Regions from separate parts of the Homo sapiens genome. Here region 1 is linked to region 2. The links are contacts of gene promoters, found by promoter capture Hi-C in human tissues and cell types (Jung and others, 2019). All regions are on one chromosome and are shown on one strand. Each heading gives the region's core, a stretch centred on a gene start or on the middle of the fragment in contact. The rest is flanking DNA. Distances are from core to core; before and after follow the strand shown. Region 1 has its middle 90 kb from the start of FLJ40288. Region 2 holds the start of CHCHD3 (coiled-coil-helix-coiled-coil-helix domain containing 3).

What was found. The method cuts DNA at HindIII sites, captures the fragments that hold promoters and counts their contacts. A contact is called where the count stands out against the background at its distance.
Region 1: a fragment that was not itself captured here is called in contact with the fragment with the promoter of CHCHD3 in region 2 in 2 of the 25 tissues and cell types used here (dorsolateral prefrontal cortex and hippocampus).

The regions. Positions count from the first base shown.
Region 1 is chr7:132,737,827-132,740,526 of GRCh38, forward strand. No RefSeq gene overlaps it. Among named protein-coding and RNA genes, the nearest start is that of FLJ40288, 90 kb to the left of the region's middle. RefSeq lists an enhancer at 2,604-2,700. The HindIII fragment of the contact is 3,867 bases long and covers 1-2,700 here.
Region 2 is chr7:133,080,792-133,083,491 of GRCh38, forward strand. It overlaps CHCHD3 (coiled-coil-helix-coiled-coil-helix domain containing 3), which reads right to left and starts at 1,299. Exons shown (of 8, transcript NM_017812.4): 1 at 1,066-1,299. The coding sequence starts at 1,146. It also overlaps the pseudogene RNU6-92P. RefSeq lists enhancers at 1,032-1,666, 1,082-1,261, 1,472-1,581. The HindIII fragment of the contact is 7,286 bases long and covers 1-2,700 here.

The sequences.
Region 1 (2,700 bases), core at 181-2,680, 340 kb before region 2:
GGCATGGTTCAGAGGCTGCCCGCTCTTTAAAGCTTCTCTGGGTACCTTAGCAGAAATTGGTCTCTCCCTTCTCTGATACTCCCAGCACTTTCTCACCTCCAGCCATAAGCACCCTCCTATTTCTTTGTGTACATGTCTTCCTTGCTTCCTGAGGTCAGGATACTGTTCTATACCTTTGATCACTCATTATTTCCTACTCATTGTAAGTGCTCAATAAATATCTGTTAAGAAATGAATGGGAAAAGAGTCTCTCCCAGGGAGCAAAATTCTTTTGAGGAGTTGTCTATGGCAAGACTTTCACTAAACAGAGCCATTCAAAGATGTAATGAATACAGGAAGCCTCCTATCACTGAGGCACTCACAAACAGGCTTGTTGGGAATGCCAGGCGGGTGACTGACATCTCAGATGGGGCCTGGGGAGGGCGAGGCAGGGGTGGTGGTGGGGGCTAGGAGTGGATGAAATCGCTTCTAACTATTTCATCTTGTGGAAAGCATCTGGGGCTTTGAAAGTCATATGGATGCAGGATCCCTAATATAACACTCACTTGACTCACATAGCCTTTGTTTGAACACGTGGTCCAATCTCCTTTCTTGGTTTTCAGGTTTTCATTAAAGAGGAATGGTGCCAGGAATGGCACTGTCAGCCCTGACTCATCCATCCTCCTGGACTTAATCAGGACTGACCTCCCAAAGGGATGAGGTTTAGGGTGGAACATTCTAGACAGTCATCAACTTAGAGCAGTATTTCCCAAAAAGCTGCTTCTCAGAGGTCTATTAGAAGTCTTGTAAGTAAATAAATAGAGGTTGAGTTTGAGTGGAGGGGTCTGCATGATCAAATAAGTTTAAGAAATGTTGCATATTATACTCCCCTCTTAGATGTTAGCAGTATACGCAGTATACATTTAGCAATAAAAGACTCTAAGAAACCTTGCAATGTAGAAATCTGTTTGATTTCATCCAACCCAGCATATTTTCCAGGCTGGTTTTGTCACAAGACACTTCTTTCGGAAGGCAGGTTTAAGAAACAATAACCCTGACAAGTAATAATCAAGAAAGCCACAATTTAGGACTAGGGCTCAACACCTGAGTGTCCCAGGTCAGTGGGTTTAGCCTCTCAGGGCAGACAGAATGCCCATAAACATTTGTCCCTGAAACACAATGATTTGGGGGATCATCCCAGCCCTGAATTGGGGCTGATGCAGGTTCACACCCTGTGCCTTGCATGATATCAGTAACTACCCTGGATAGCTTGGAAGCAGTCAGAAACCTACAATTAACCAGAGGGATGGCAGTGTGGAGGGAAACACAGAACGTCCTCTTTTCTACTTTTCTTTCATCTCTTTCCCCATTTCCACTCTCATTTCTGGTTTCCTTTCACAACCTGTTACATATGTATCTGCTAGACATCCAGAAAGTTACTCCCGAAGAGTCTCCCTCTCCCCACCACCTCTCCAGATCAGCAGAAACATTAGGAGACCAAGAAAACATTACAAAGTCCTTGTTGATTAGGTTCGCATTATCTTATAACTTTCAGTAGAATTTTGGGTCCTTATGGAAACTAACTTTAAGATGATCCAGTTTAACCTGCTTCCTCTCTGAGGTCCAGAGGGGTAACATGGCTTTCCCAAGGTCACACAACTAGTGAGTGCAAGAGCTAGACTCCAACTGAGGTCTCCTGTCTCCAAGAATGGTGTTATTTCTACTGCACTGCAGCAGTCTGTTCATTATGTAAATCCCCAGAGCATCAGCTTGAGTCCCCAAAAAAGATCAAATCATGATTTATGTCACTTCTAAGTTTACAGAGGATTACATTCAGAATTCTCTTCCCTGTGAGGTCAGAGCCATGCTTCCCATCACAGACTGGGATGGTACCCAAGCCAGCACAGTTGTGCATGCAGAATGACAGCCTCCACATTTAGACAATGACTCATCCCTTCGAATATCGCTGGGCTTGGAATGACTTGAAAGAGAAGGAAGGAAGGATAGCGATGTTGAAATCTCAGTGGTGTGCTGATGGAGACACACTCCTGCGAATGAAAACCAAAAATGAATGCTTCTGTTCCCTCCCTCACTGGCTGATACTCAATTAAAACTTTGATACCAATAAAACTTTGAGAGCCAGGCATTGCTTTAATAAGGAAAAGACTGAGTTATACATGCAGGAAAATGTCTACAAACATCCTAAACTTGATTGCTTTTTGGGTAATGCTAATTTGTGAAGATCAGTGAGAAATGCACGTGGGATGTAAAGACAAGTTAGTGGTCCACACTGATGAACAGGACTTTGCTGTTGATGCCTGCTGCAAATGTGGGAAATAATCTCCAGTCACTGCCCTCCAAAAGCTAACAATTTAATGAGAAGCCAGAATGAACACTTGGCAGAAACACACAAGTATATGGTATTTAATTTAAAGAGAACATCATATTCTGGCGTTGGAGAAAAACATCAAGGACGATCCAGGTGAGATGGAGTTAATCAAAGAGGACTTACTGAAGAGGTATGAGCTTTGTGCCACGAGATTTGGAAGGAAGGAAAGACCAGATGGCAAGAAGGCTAGGAAGCAGATGCCCAAAGCAGGTGAATGGCTTGTACATACGCCCAGAAGAGGAGAAATGGTGAATGCAGCAAATCCTCACATCAGGAAGATAAGGCTGTTTATATTTACATATTTCTGTACACTTCTCAAAGCAAGTTACCCC
Region 2 (2,700 bases), core at 49-2,548:
AGAAGAAAAAGTTTTTAAACATTTTAAATATTTAAGAAGTTTTATTTCCTGGTAACAACTGTTAAAAATAATTTACAAATGTAATTTATTTACGCTGGTTGATAACAGAAAAAAATATATAAATTATTATAAAACTTTCTGAAGTCAAAATTGCTTTATTTACTAGGTTCAGGCATCATACGTCCAAAAATGTGAGGCTCCAAATTCAGGCGCAGCGGAGAGTGTGTTAATGAAGTTAGTGCTGGTATACTGACACCCTAGAGAAAAACCAGGTTTTCAGTTTATGTATCAGGTGCATGCAAAGGGCATTAAAAAAAAAGTGCTCTACAACGTTGGTCAGAAATGACTACATTACTTCTACTGGTATGAAAAACTGCAAACCCATCTCAGCCCCTATCAGACTGGCAGACACTAGTCCTGAAGCAACTGGGCCTAATCCAAAACTTCGGCGCAGCAGGTCACAGAGGAGGCGCCTGGGAAAGAGGAGATATCAAGTGAAAGTGAAGCAGGGAGAAGCCAGAAGCCGCCCCAGGCAGGTCAGAAAAGACTGTGGGGCTGGGAGGGAGGATGACAGGGTGTGGGGAGTGGGTGGGAGGAGGGGGTGTTATCAGAGGGAGAGCACTAAATGACACAAAGCAAAGGCAATCCTTAAAATGCCAATTCACCCTGGGAGACAGGGTGTGCACAGTGGAAAAGCAGGGTTTGGGTCCTGAACCCAGGAAAACCATTTCACAGACAAGTACACCGAGGTATGGGTTTCAAATACGGTCCTGCAACAAGGGAGCAGTACAGTTACGAGTAGACTGTGAGCCCTTGCAGGGTATAATTCAACCTGGCATTCCCCGCCCGCCCCAGCAGTGCCTAGCACTTGGCACAACCAGGAACTATCTCTGAATGAATGTCCCACGTCTTGAAACTCTAGGCTTCTTCCCAGACACCTGGGCTTCTGGCCTTAATACGCTAGGGTCCAGGACGGGAGAAACCCAGGCTGAGCGGGTCCGGAGAAGATGGGGCCTTGGGGTCCGAGTCCAACCACTGGCCCTCCGCCCGTCCACGGGCACTCACCCGGATGCCCTTCACCACGGTGATGTTCTCATTCTCGTCCGCCTCGAAGGTGACCCGGCGGGTGCTGGTGGTCCCACCCATGATTCCGGTTCCTGCCCCAGCGGAGACCTAGCGGGGAACCACGAGCACTTCGGGGCCCCCGCACCCACACGCGCGTGGAAGGGCCTGGATTCTTTTCCCGCACAGCGGGAGCAAGGCCACGACCCCCAGAAGCAAGGAGAAGGCGCCGGTCCTGAGCTCCCGCCTCCTCCGGTCACGCGCCACAACAAAAACGCCTCAGGTTGGTCGGCGATGCGAACTGCCCGCCTCTGTTCGGCGAGGGCGCCCGGATTGGTTCACCCGACCCGGATGCTATGGCAACAGGTGGTGTTTGATAGCTTTCCGCGGAGTCCCTGGGTGTAGTGGGAACTGTGGTCTCGATCTGGCGCGGTGGGTGATGGGACATTCTCTCCCCGCGCCTGAGCGCGCTAAGGGAGCACGGCATTCTGGGAGTTGTGGTTTTGACTCCCCAGAGACGCCTAACTGGGCAACTTTTTGAAGACATAATTCTAGAAATTTAGGCCACTAAGTTCAGAGACACAATCTTTCTCTCAAAGGGACTCACAGTTTAATGAAAAAGATGCATGATACTAATGAAGCCATTCCTAGTGTTCTATACACAAATTCCTGGCTCAAAACTTAGCGTTTCATTACAGTCGTAGGGTAGCTTAATGAAGACTACTTCTGAGAAATGCCTCGTTAGGTGACCCTGTGATATCTGTGGTTGTGCAAACATCATAGAGTGTACTTACACAAACCCAGATGGTGTAGCCTACTACACACCTGGGCTACTTGGTGTAACCTATTGCTCCCAGGCTGCAAAGATGTACAGCATGTCACTGTACTAAATACTGTAGGCAATTGTAACACAGTGGTATTTGTGTGTACAAATATATGTAAACATAGAAAAGCTACAGCAAAAACAGTGTAAAAGTGATTGCTTTGGCAACACATCTAGGACAATTTGAACAATACAGAGATTAGCACAGCCCCTGAGCAAGGTTGACACATGAATTTCTGAAGCATTCCATTAAAAAAAAAATCAAAGATAAAAAATGGTATGCTTCTATAGGGCACTTACCATGAATGGAGCTTACAGGACTGGAAGTTGCCCTGAGTGAGTCAGTGAGTGAGTGGGGAGTTGAATGTGAAGGCCTGGGACGCAACTATGCAGTACTGTACCTTTTATCAACACTGTGCACTTAGGCAACACTAAATTTATTTTCATATATTTTCATTCTTCAAGAATAAATTGACCTTAGCTTACTGTAACTTTTTAAACTTATAAACTTCTTTTTTTGTGACTTTTTGACTCTTTAATAACACTTAGCTTAAAACACAAACACACTATATAGCTGTACAAAAATATTTCTTTCTTTATATACTTAGTCTATAAGCTTTTTCTATTTTTGAAATTATTTACTTTTTACTTTTTAAACATTTTTGTTAAAAATTAAGACAAACACACACACATTAGCCTAGACCTACACGGGGTCAGGATCATCAATATCACTGTCTTCCACCTTCACATCTTGTCCCACTGAAAGGTCTTCAGAGGCAATAACACGTATGGAGCTATCTCCTATGATAACAGCA